Regions from separate parts of the Homo sapiens genome. Here region 2 is linked to region 1. The links are contacts of gene promoters, found by promoter capture Hi-C in blood cells and fetal thymus (Javierre and others, 2016). All regions are on one chromosome and are shown on one strand. The core of a region is centred on a gene start or on the middle of the fragment in contact, and the rest is flanking DNA. Distances in the headings are between cores, read along the strand shown.

What was found. The method cuts DNA at HindIII sites, captures the fragments that hold promoters and counts their contacts. A CHiCAGO score of 5 or more calls a contact.
Region 2: a contact is called between a fragment that was not itself captured here and the fragment with the promoter of DNAJC2 in region 1, in 1 of 17 cell types (naive CD8 T cells). The highest score is 6.2, in naive CD8 T cells.

The regions. Positions count from the first base shown.
Region 1 is chr7:103,342,939-103,349,152 of GRCh38, forward strand. It overlaps DNAJC2 (DnaJ heat shock protein family (Hsp40) member C2), which reads right to left and starts at 1,829. Exons shown (of 17, transcript NM_014377.3): 1 at 1,621-1,829. The coding sequence starts at 1,684. PSMC2 (proteasome 26S subunit, ATPase 2) reads left to right here and starts at 4,705. Exons shown (of 12, transcript NM_002803.4): 1 at 4,705-4,843. The coding sequence starts at 4,774. It also overlaps a transcript of PMPCB not described here and the pseudogene RPS29P16. RefSeq lists an enhancer at 1,772-2,011. The HindIII fragment of the contact is 5,590 bases long and covers 1,244-6,214 here.
Region 2 is chr7:105,534,270-105,541,066 of GRCh38, forward strand. RINT1 (RAD50 interactor 1) reads left to right here. Exons shown (of 15, transcript NM_021930.6): 3 at 2,296-2,480. Among named protein-coding and RNA genes, the nearest start is that of RINT1, 5.5 kb to the left of the region's middle. The HindIII fragment of the contact is 2,711 bases long and covers 949-3,659 here.

The DNA.
Region 1 (6,214 bases), core at 579-3,078:
GTGATAAATTGTCACGAAGAGCTAGCCTCACCAAAAATAAAAAATCTAAAAACAACTCAAACTATCTTTTTATTTTTTGAGACGGAGTTTTGCTCTTGTTGTCCAGGCTGTAGTGCAATAGCGCAATCTCGGCTCACTGCAACCTCCGCCTCCCGGGTTCAAACGATTCTTCTGCCTCAGCCTCCCAAGTTGCTGGGATTATAGGCGCCCGCCACCACGCCCAGCTACTTTTTTGTATTTTTAGTAGAGACAGGGTTTCACCCTGTTAGCCAGGCTGGTCTCGAACTGCTGACCTCAGGTGATCCACCTGCCTCGGCCTCCCAAAGTGCTGGGATTATAGACGTGAGCCACCGCACCCAGACAACTCAAACTGTCTTAATTATTAAAATCTTGAATATAGCTCTTAAAAATTTTAAGAATTCACTAACAAGAATTTGTCCTGAAAGCAATTTTCCAAGCAGCAAATGGGAATTTACTAATGCAGCTAAGCTGTAGTGGAACAAGCTCTCAATCTGAAACCAGACACTCTGGGTTTTAGACTAGGTCTGACAGTGGCTATGTGACCTGAAATGAATCAGGATGTCTTCACCTGTAAAATGGGAACAATACCTATTTATCTCATTCAGTTCCTAGGAAGCTTGAATGAGACCACAGAAACTCTCTGAAATTACAAACTTGTAGTAAAGGTATCATCTATTCCTGGGAAGTGGGGGTAAATCACTGTACATGTGTATACTAGCAATTCAAAAAAGGAAAATCCCTGAACAACTTATTTTAAGATTTCCTCCACCTTACACAGGAGAGGATTAAAACACTGTCAAAAAGGTACTACCTGTGTAGTATGGGTGTGTGGCTTTTAAGAACACTGCCTTTTAAGCCTTTTGCTCTAGTTGTAAGAGGCACACGGAGACACATAAATGCAACACGTGCCATGGGTTATGTTCAAAATCACATTCAACAAGCGCCTATGTGACTGGCTATGGGAATTACTGTAGATCACTGGACCTGAAGACTCTTAAGTTTACAATACTCATGACTGTCCTGGGCCATAAAACTAAAACCTACAGCAGCAGGACAAGTTTCACTTGTAATAACTGCCTTTCAAAGTCTACGCGGATCTTTTCAGCAGCACAGTCTTTGAACACCGAGTATGAGGAGCGGTGTCTGAGTTGTGACATTTAAAAAACAAGGCCGGAGCAAACGTAGAGAGGGAGAAAGTTGTTTAAGAGAGCGCCAGTAGCAAAGCTTTGTACGACCCCAGGCACGTGGGGTGCTCGCTGCGCGTAGTCTTTCCACCGTAGGCAAGGAGATGCTTATGAGAACCTTTCTGGGGTGCTGGGGGGTTCCGTCCCGAAATGCTCAGCCCAATCCATGAGTCAGCAGCGGCGAGAGGAGGAAGCAACGGTAGGAGCAAAAGGAAGGCACCCCTCACCCTCCTTCCTTCTAATCTAGGGTAGGATTACTTTAAAACACGGAGCAAAAAGGCACTCGTCACGGCCCCATACGGCCCCGGGGCTAGTCGCCAGGGTCAAGGGTAGAGAGAGCCCAGGGTTGCCGAGGCGGAGGACTGAGGCAGGGGCAGCTGAGGTGAGAAGGAACCGAGGTTGGGTGGGCACTTACCAGAGGTCAGAGCGTGGGTGATGGCGGTGCCCCGGCCGTCCGCGGCGCTTGGCAGAAGCAGCATGATGGCGCCGGGTCTAGCCCGGTGGGCGCAGCGGCTCACGTCCCGGGCGGAGGGCGCTTAGGGTCCCCTCCAGCTCTACCTCTCACTCCGAGCCTCGCGCCTTGGCTCTAAGACGCCCAGGAACCGGCGCATGGAGACGACCAGTAAGCACTTCCGGGATGGATCTTTCGTGGTGTGGAGGCCAGTCTCACACCCTCCCACCCCCGCCAACGTGTGCGGTAACCTAGTTCTATACTGACTGAGATCCGGCTGGAGACCAAGTCGCACGAGAGAATGGTTCCTAGGCGCATCAGTTTTCCTGTAAAAAGGATTATATTCCACGTCCCAGTGCAATACATAGAACATAACCTTTAAAAGCAGTTCTTTTTATATTATCTTTAAGTTCTTACTGCTTTATGTATTAATCTGAACCTAATCAGTGATTTTCCCAGGAGCGCTATACTTTTAAGTAAAAAATGAAAATACCTGTATGAACCAGTATCGACGACTAGTATATACATTTGCGGAGAATTACGTACGTGTATTTGTGATACATTTGTGTTTAACTTGATGATGATAATAGCAGCTAATATTTGTCGTGCTATTACTAATTTACCTGCATTATATCTTTTAATACTCGCTTGGAGAAGAAACCTCTCTCTAGTGTGTTAGATTGTATTCCAAGGCCAGCAATATTTTTACCTTGTTCTAATGAAGTTTTTATTCAAGATATTCCCAATTATAGGACTCTGGGACTTAATTTTTTAATGTATAATAAAATCAATTGTATTCCTACTATATGCTTCCTTCTAAGACTGCAGTCAAAAGCAAAAACTAGCAAAAACAAACAGTGGGTAAAGGCTCACCCCCAACAGCAGTATCTGAAACAGGTTCAATAAAATAAACTTGATATGCCACTCTTTAGCAAGGACCACCAGAAATTAGTAAATTAGAAAATAACTTACTAATTTCATTATATTTTCACAATTAAAGTTTTTAAATATATTATATATATATATATGTATATTTTTTTTTGTAGAGACAGGGTCTCACTATGTTGCCCAAGGTGGTCTTGAACTCCTGGCCTCAAGGGATCCTCCTGCCTCAGTCTCCCAAAACTCTGGGATTAGAGGCGTGAGTCACTGTGCCAGGCCAATTAAATACATTTAATTGGTCTGTATATCTGCTGCATGATAAAATTGTCACTTCAAAACTGACTTTTCAAAAATTGAACTAAGGGAGGCTGAGGTGGGAAGATCGTTGAGGCCGGGAGGTGGAGGTTGCAGTGAGCTGAGATCACACCATTGCGCTCCAGCCTGGGTAACAGTGAGACCCCGTCTTTAAAAAAAAAAAAATTGAACTAATCTTCTGCCCCAAAACCTCTTCCTGATCCCTACTAATGCAACCACTGTTAAAACATGCTCCAAGGTGCAAAGTAACCTGACTCCACTTTCTTCATATTAATATATTTTTTTCCTCACACCTCCTCCCATTCAATTTTACCATTAACTCTAACATGGGTTTTTGTTTTTTTGTTGTTTTCTTTTCTGAGACAGAGGCTTGCTCTGTCGCCCAGGCTGGAGTGCAGTGGCCTGATTTCGGCTCACTGCAATCTCTGCCTCCCAGGTTCAAGCGATTCTCCTGCCTCAGCCTCCCGAGTAGCTGGGATTACAGGTGCGTGCCACCACGCCCAGCTAATTTCTGTATTTGTAGTAGAGACGGGGTTTAGCCATGTTGGCCAGGCTGGTCTCCAACTCCTGACCTCATGATCTGCCTGCTTCAGCCTCCCAAAGTGCTGGAATTACAGGGGTGAGCCACGGTGCCCGGTCGGGGGTTTTGTTTTTTAAAAAAATTGTGCTAAAACACACATAACATGAAATTTACGATCTTCACCGTTTTTAAGTTTACAGTAATGTTAAGTACATTCACATTATTGTGTAACCACCCTACAAAACTATTTTTATCTTACAAAACTGAAACTCTATACCCATTTAATCTCTTACAAAACTGAAACTATGCCAGTGGAAAAAACTGTCCACTGGAAACCATCCTTCTACTTTGTCTTTAGGAATTTGACACCTCTAGGTACTTCATATTTGTGGAATCATATAGTATTTGTCTTTTTTGTGACTGACTTATTCACTTAGCATAATGTCTTCAAGGTTCATCTGTGTTGTAGCTTATACTAGAATTTCATTCCTTTTTAAGGCTGAATAATGTGTGTGTGTGTGTGTGTGTGTGTGTGTGTGTGTGAGCGCGCATGCGTGTATCACATTTTGTTTATCCATTCATATGTAGATGGACACTTGGGTTGCTTCCACCTTATGGGTATCATGACTAATGCTGCTTATGGACATGGATGTACAAATATCTCTTTGAGATCCTGTTTTCAGTTCTTTTGGATACACATCCAGAAATCGAATTGCTAGGTGGCATGGTAATTATTTTTAATTTCCTGAGGAATCAATCATACTGTTTCCCACAGCAGTTGCACCATTTTATCATTTTACATTTACATCAACAGTGCACCAGGATTCCATTTTATCCAGCAGCACATGCAAGGGTTGGCTGGACCCAAGGGTCATCCTTTCCAACACTTATTTTCTGTTTTGTTTTTGCTTGTTTTTTAATAATAGCTATCTTAATAGGTATGTGGTGGCATCCAACTGTGGTTTTGATTTGCATTTCCTAACAGTGATGTTGTCCATTTGTATATCTTCTTTGGAGCAATGTTTATTCAGGTTATTTGCCCACTTAAAAAATCAGGTTGTTTTCTTGTGTGGTAGGAGTTCTTTATATATTCTGGATATTAACTCTTTACCAGAAATAGATTACCTTCACTATATTTGTAGATGTGGCCACTACTTATTGTGTCTAATATGCCAGGCGTTTTACAAACACTGTAAAGTTTCCTTCTCACAGGTAATCAGTCCAAAAACCAGCGTGCCAAAGCGTTTCCCCAGGGCTCTGTCCGGACTCTGAAGCACTGCATAAAGGGGTCTGTCTGAGCCCAATTTACTTCCGGTGGGGAAGGGAAAGGGAAGACACCACCGGAAGCAAGGAAGGTGCTGTGTAATCATTAAGGAGCGGAGGCTTTTGGAGCTGCTAAAATGCCGGATTACCTCGGTGCCGATCAGCGGAAGACCAAAGAGGATGAGAAGGACGACAAGCCCATCCGAGGTCAGTTGACATGGGCCGGAGCTCGGAGCTGGGGCGGGACTGGAGCGGAGCTGCCTTGGCACTGGAGAGGAGCTGGATTCCCGCTCCTGGCTCTGTGCTCTGGCCCTTTTGTGCCCCTAGTAATTTAGTCTGGACACCGGCCGGATTAACTTGCCTGCCTTCTCAGTCTCCCTCATCCACTACAAGTTCTGTATTATCTGCTGATGGAAATTTTTATTCATTCTCAGCTCTCGGGTCTTGAAGAAGTCACGCACCCTGCTTGGCCTAATAGGCCTTGAAAAGTTCTGCCTGGCGGTGCTCGGTCACCTGATCCTCTTTCCTCTCCTCCTCCTTCCCCCTGTGACAGCCGGGAGCTGTCACTGTGTAGCCACAATTCTGAGACATAATTTTCTTAAAAAAATTATTTGACCAGATAATACATTCACAGGGTTCACAATTCAAGAGGCAGAAAAGATATCTTTGAAAAGCCTCGCATCCTTGGCCCCAGCCACCAACTTCTCCACAGAGGCAACTAATGTTGCTATTTTGCATATCTTTTTAGACATATTCTATACATATACAAGCAAGTGTGCTTATCTATTCCTTTTTTTTAACACAAATGTAGCATGCTGTACATACTTCAACATCTTGATTTTTAAAAAATTAATATATATTAGAGATACTTTCCTATCATGTAGTCACTTCCTCTGCATCTGCATAGTATCCTGTATTATGCGTATACAGTAATGTATTTATTATTGATGGACGTGTAGATTTTTCCAATTTGTTGCTGTTATAAAACAATGAGTACCTTTTACCTCGTTGCACTCTGAGACCAAGATGGGTCACCAGAAGCTATGCTGGAGCCACCCGCGAAAATTCGGCCAGGGTTCTCGCTCTTGTCGCGTCTGTTCAAACCGGCACGGTCTGATCCGGAAATATGGCCTCAATATGTGCCGCCAGTGTTTTTGTCAGTATGGGAAGGATATTGGTTTCATTAAGTTGGACTAAGTGATCTTCCTTCAAAGGATTATCCAAGGCATCTACCCAATGGAAAACCATGATAGTTCTTTGTACATAAAATAAACATTTAAAAAAATGAATAATCTTGTTTATGTAACTTTTACCAAGTGCACAAGTACAAATTGTAGGATAAATTCTAGAAGTGGAGTTCTGATTTTGTAAGTGCCAAACTACACTCCATGGAGATTGTACCAGTTGACACTTTAACTTACAGTGCATGAGATATGCACACCAGTTTTGGATATAACTTCTTCCCAGTAGTCCCGTTTGTAGTCTCATCTTTATGCCGTTTCTCCTTTTGTTCCTTAAGCTATTTTTAAATGTTCTTTTGGTATTTCTTATGTTTCTTCTTACTTTTCCCTTTCTTAA
Region 2 (6,797 bases), core at 1,054-3,553, 2.2 Mb after region 1:
TTTTGGTTAGGCTGGTCTTGAACTCCTGACCTCAGGCAATCCACCGTCCTCGGCCTTCCAAAGTGCTGGGATTATAGGCATGAGCCACTGTGCTCAGTGGGTGTAATTTTTTTTAAAAAATGAAGGTAGAATTTCCTCCCTAAGATACAGCAACTTTAGCATTCACAAAACATTTCCTGCCTCCATTTATCTGCAGATACACCACACAAATCACTTGTTTTATTTAAGATTTAAAAAAGGCATTGTGAGTTCTGTACATAATAGTAGATTATTATACGTTAATATTATATATAATTATATAGTATAATTAATATATAATTTGTATTATATAGTCCCATTTATAACCTTGAGATATAGGCTGGGGCAAATGTTACAATTTGTTTTCTAGTTGGAAAATTGAGGCATAGTGTTATGTTAATATTGCCTCTCCTACCCTCTAAATTGTCAATTTAAAATTGCTCTGGGAAGGCACAATGTATAGCTTGGGTTCTGGATCTTGCACTGAACAGGAAAGGGGGAAAAGGTCAGTACCACCTCCTGATTCTCACAGCATGTGAAAAATCTTTTAATTTAATTCATATAAGTTAAGTAGAACAAAGGAAATTTTGTTTGTTGGGGTGTAGGGGTGGAGACAGGAACATACTCTGTATAAAACATTGGTATATATTCTGTTAATCTTTACATAAATAGTTGACCAATATCTGACATTTACATTTTGCACTTAGGCATATCATTATTTAGATATTAATATTAATAAGCCTAATGTGTATTGGACTTATTAAATGTCACAAAACAGGTAGTTTATTTGCCATGGAAAGAATCTCACTTTATACTATTTAGTGGTTGCATTTGTCATTTTGATTTTTTCCTAGTAATTTGTTCTCTCATATTTTCTTTTTTCTGTTTCTGACAAAGATATCTTTGTACAATGACATCGATGACATTTGAAGCTTAAAAACCTTTTTTTTTTTTTTTTTTGAGGCAGAGTCTCACTCTGTTGCCCAGGCTGGAGTGCAGTGGCGTGATCTCGGCTCACTGCAACCTCCGCCTCCCGGGTTCAAGCGATTCTTCTGCCTCAGCCTCCCGAGTAGCTGGGACTATAAGCGTGCACCGCCATGCCCAGCTAATTTTTGTATTTTTAGTAGAGACAGGTTTTCACCATATTGGCCAGGCTGGTCTCGAACTCCTGACCTTGTGATCTGCCTGCCTCAACCTCCCAAAGTGCTGAGATTACAGGCCTGAGCCACCTCGCCCAGCCAAACCTTTTTTACTTTTTTGTTTGTTTGTTTGTTTGTTTTTAAGAGATGAGGTCTTGCTCTGCTGTCCAGGCTGGAATGTAGTAGTGAGATCATGGCTCACTGCAGCCTCCATCTCCCAGGCTGCTCAAGCAATCCTCCCACCTCAGCCCACCTGAGACTACAGGTGTGTTCCACCATTCCTGGCTAATTTTGTTAGATGAAGTCTTGCTTTGTTGCCTAGGCTGGTCTAGAACTTCTGGGCTCAAGTGATCCTCCTGCCTTGGCCTCCCACAGTGCTGGGATTACAGGTGTGAGCCCCTGCGCCCGGTCTTTTTAAAAACACTTTAAAACAAGAGTCTTCTTTTGGTGTTGCCCTAGACCATACTACTGGTTCCTTACACATTTTGAAAAGGTATTATTCCTTGTCTATTGAAACCTGTGGTTACTGGATCACACTTTAGGAATTTTTCCTTTAATACTTCCCTCAGCTCTTAAGCATTTTGCAGTAGTTGTTTGATAGAGTGCTTTAGAGCTATTCTTCTGGGCATTTGTCTGTGTGTGTTGTTCTTTAAATTATTAACTTTGTTTTGTTTTGGTTTTGTTTTTTGATACAGAGTCTCTGTCGCCCAGGCTGGAGTGCAGTGGCGCTTTGTTTTGGTTTTGTTTTTTGATACAGAGTCTGTCTGTGTCGCCCAGGCTGGAGTGCAGTGGTGTGATCTTGGCTCACTGCAACCTCTGCCTCTTGGGTTCAAGGGATTCTCGTGCCTCAGCCTCCCGAATAGCTGGGACTACAGGCCTGTGCCCCCACGCCTGGCTAATTTTTGTATTTTTAGTAGAGACGGGATTTCGCCGTGTTTGCCAGGCTAGTCTTAAACTCCTGGCCTCAGGTGATGCACCTGCCTCAGCCTCCCAAAGTGCTGGGATCACAGGTGTGAGCCACCGTGCCTGGCAAAATTATTAACTTTTGAAGGCAGATAAACTGCTTTTATATGTTTTATATTTTCTTTAACTCCATAGTACTTAGTGGCGTTGAGTAATTGTTATTCTTTTGTTGTAGGTGACATAAATGTTACAGTTCTTATTGGAAGTAAACAAGTCAGTGAAGGTACAGATAATGGTGATCTCCCTTCTTATGTGTCTGCATTCATAGAAAAGGAAGTTGGAAATGACCTTAAATCTTTAAAGAAACTTGATAAACTCATAGAACAGAGGACAGTAAGTAAAATGCAGTTAGAAGAACAGGTAAGTATTGAAACTCACTGAAATAATTATCAGTGGAATACTTTTAACAATATAATATAAACATAATCTATTATATATAGAATTTTAAAGATATAGAACGTGACAAATAGTCTATTATATACTGTTTAAGAGGATTTAAGAACGTACATTGTATTACCTATTTTACAAATTAGGTAAAAGACAAAGTTCCTACTGATATGGTTTGTCTTCAAAACATAGTGAGACCTAACATTTTACATAGATTTTCATAGAGTGACTTTTTTTTCCTTTCAATCTGTTTCTAGTGAACATACAGTGACTTTTAAATTGCTTTTACAAGCAAATAATTTCATGGCATACAAAAATATATACCATGGTGTAAACACCATCATTTCAATTTTTTTTTTTTTTTTTTTTTTGAGACGGAGTTTTGCTCTTGTTGCCCAGGTTGGAGTACAATGGCGCCATCTTGGCTCACTGCAACCTCTGCCTCCCAGGTTCAAGCAATTCTCCTGCCTTAGCCTCCCATGTAGCTGGGATTACAGGCATGTGTCACCCTGCCCAGCTAATTTTGTATTTTAGGTAGAGATGGGGTTTCATCATGTTGGCAAGGCTGGTCTTGAACTCCTGACCGCAGGTGATCCACCTGCCTTGGCCTCCCATAGTTCCGGGATTACAGATGTGAGCTGCTATACCCGGCCACATTTCAGATTTTAATAAATGTACCCATAGGGAGAAGTATAAAGTGAAAAGAAGTATAACGTAACGGTTATTTCTGTGTGGTTGGTTGACAAGTGATGTATTTAAAAAATATTTTTAGGCCTGGCACGGTGGCTCACACCTGTAATCCCAGCACTTTGGGAGGCCAAGGCAGGTGGATCACCTGAGGTCAGGAGTTTGAGACCAGCCTGACCCACATGGTGAAATCCCGACTCTACTAAAAATACAACAAAAAAAATTAGCCAGGTGTGGTGGCGGGCACCTGTAATCCCAGCTACTCGGGAGGCTGAGGCAGGAGAATCGCTTGAACCCAGGAGGCGGAGTTTGCTGTGAGCTGAGATCATGCCATCGCACTCCAGCCGGGGCAACAAAAGTGACACTCCGTCTCAAAAATATATATTTCTATGTATTTATAGGTTTTTTTTTCTTTTACAATGAACATATCACTTAAAATAATTTTTTAAAAACCCAATGAGTATAAGCTTAAACAAAAAAATAAGTAGGCCCCTCTACTTGGCAATGGTGTGTTTGTCAAAGATAAAACATTTTTTTCTTTTTTTTTGAGACGGAGTCTGACTCTGTCGCCCAGACTGGAGTGCAATGGCGTGATCTCGGCTCACTGCAACCTCTGCCTCCTGGGTTCAAGTGATTCTCCTGCCTCAGCCTCCCGAGTAGCTGGGACTACAGGCACGCGACACCACGCCCAGCTAATTTTGGTATTTTTAGTAGAGACAGGGTTTCACCACTTGGGCCAAGATGGTTTCGATTCCTTGACCTCGTGATCCGCCTGCCTTGGCCTCCCAAAATGCTAGGGTTACAGGCATGAGCCACCACACCCGGCCAAGATAAAACATTTTTATCATATAGCTACTAAATTAGGTTAAGTAAATTCTGTGTGGGTTATTTCCAGGTTTTTGGTCATCGTATATTCTCCTGTCCCCATTACCTTAGGCCTCCACACCTTCCTGTCTTCCCACCACAACTACTGCTAGTCTTCAAGTTTAGCCTGGCTTTGTCTGCCTTTTCACTCCTGCAGGCAGGTTGTTGTGGGCCCAGTTGGAGGAAGTCATGCAGCTGAGTAGATTGATGCCAATCTATGTGTGTGGTCTGCCACCCTGGCTGAGTCTTCAGCCCCACCAGCAGTCCTTCCATGGGAACGTCAGCTCCTCTGCTACTCCCCTCAACTGTTCTTTCAGATTCTGTTTGAGACATCTACCCAACCTGTCCATTCTGCCCTTTCCTTTTCCCTAGCAGAAAAAAATAGAAGCCTAGCATGAATTTAGTAGCATTGAATTCAGTCTGTTGAATAGTCTATCCCACAATCGACAAATTTATGTGCAGTCATTTTTAACCTCTTCATTCAGCAAAGGATCAGTCGAAGGCAGACCTTATACCCCAGGTTCTCTCTGCCACCTCAGTAAACTTGTGTCACTCTTATAATTTTACCCTGTGTTCGTCAACCAGTCCTATCCCTTCAGCATGTGCACATAGACAGGTCTTTTCCATAAAACCTTAACAAAGAAACAAAAAAACCCATGATCTTTTAGCAGGTATTAGTTCTTTCCTTTGATTGTCAGGCTTCAGAAAGTAACCTTTGTTATCTATCTCTACTTTTTGTCATTCATCTTTTACCCACTGTAATCAGGTTTGTTTCCCTAATGACCACAGAAACTTTTACTGAAGTTCCTTATTGAACCTTAAATTCAGCATGTCCAAAACTATACTGATCCATTTTTTAGAGGCTTGTCTGTCTTGGTTAGATAATGGCACCACTATTTGCCTGTCACCCAGACCTGAAGCCTAGGAGTCCTAGATTCCTTCTTATCATCCTCTCATCCTCTATCCCATCACCAAGTCATCTGAGTTCAGCCTCAACATCTCTGGTATCCATCCCATCTTTCCCACTCTTTTTTTTTTTTTTTTTTTTTTGAGTTGGAGTTTCACTCTTGTTGCCCAGGCTGGAGTGCAATGGCACAATCTTGGCTCACTGCAACCTCCACCTCCTGGGTTCGAGTGATTCTCCCGCCTCAGGCTCCCAAGTAGCTGGGATTATAGGCATGTGCCACCACGCTCGGCTAATTTTGTATTTTTGGTAGAGATGGGGTTTCTCCATGTTGGTCAGGTTGGTCTCAAACTCCCAACCTCAGGTGATCTGCCCGAAAGTGGATCTTGGCCTTCCAAAGTGCTGGGATTACAGGCGTGAGTCACTGCTCCCGGCCCATCTTTCCCACTCTTGCTGATACCATGTTAGTTTAGGCAGATTGGGAGCTTTGTAGAAATGCAGAATCTCAGTCTTACTTCAGACTTACTGTATCAGAATCTGTATTACAACAAGATCTTTAGGTGATTAATGTGCCCATTCATTAAATATAGCCTGTCTATTTTATTGCATTAATCCCACTGTTGAAATTATTTGCTTACAACACTCTTATATACCAAAGTGACCTGAAGGACGGATGCTGTGTCTTGTTTATCTGCATATTTCTAGCGCAGTGCCTGGTACAGAATAAGTATCTAATCACTGTTGATTGAAATTATTCTATAATGTTCTTTGTATTTTGCTGATGACTAATATTTGTATATGTTTTCCCACATACTATAAGAAAAATTCACTTAATAAATGCCATTTTCTTTTTTTTTTTTTTTTTGAGATGGAGTCTTCCTCTGTCGCCCAGGCTGGAGTGTGGTGGTGTGATCTCAGCTCACTGCTACCTCTGCCTTCCGGGTTTCAAGTGATTCTCCTGCCTCAGCCTCCTGAATAGCTGGGATTACAGGCATGCGCCACCATCCTCAGCTCATTTTTGTATTTGTATTTATTTTATTTTATTTTTTGAGACAGAGTCTCACTCTGTCGCCCAGGCTGGAGTGCAGTGGAGCGATCTCAGCTCACTGTAACCTCCGCCTCCTGGTTTCACCAATTCTCCTGCCTCAGCCTCTTGAGTAGCTGGGATTACAGGCTCATACTACCACACCCGGCTAGTTTTTGTATTTTTATTAGAGACGGGGTTTCACCATGTTGGCAAGTGTGGTCTCAAACTCCTTACCTCAAGTGATCCACCAGCTTCTGCCTCCCAAAGTGCTAGGATTACAGGCATGAGACACTGTGCCCGGCTGAATTTTTGTATTTTTAGTAGAGACAGGGTTTCACCATGTTGGCTAGGCTGGTCTCGAACTCCTGACCTCCAGTGACCTGCCCTCCTTGGCCTCCCAAAGTGCTGGGATTACAGGTGTGAGCCACTGCACCTGGCCACTAAATGCCCTTTCTAAAGGCATTGCCTGGATATCATCTCATCAAGTCAGTGCTTCTTAGCCTGGCCTTAATTCAGAATCACCTGGGGTATGTTGGCAAAATATAGATGCTCAGCCTGTTAGAATGAGATCTTTGTTTCCTTTTTTTTTTTTTTTTTGATATGGAGTCTCGCTCTGTCACCCAGGCTAGATGGCAGTGGCGCAGTCTCGGCCCACTGCAACCTCTGCCTCCCGGGTTTAAGAAATTCTCTGCCTCAGCCTCCCAAAGTGCTGGGATTACAGGTATGTGCCACCATGCTCAGCTAATTTTTTTGTATTTTTTAGTAGAGACAAGATTTTGCCATCTTGGCCAGGCTGGTCTTGAACTCC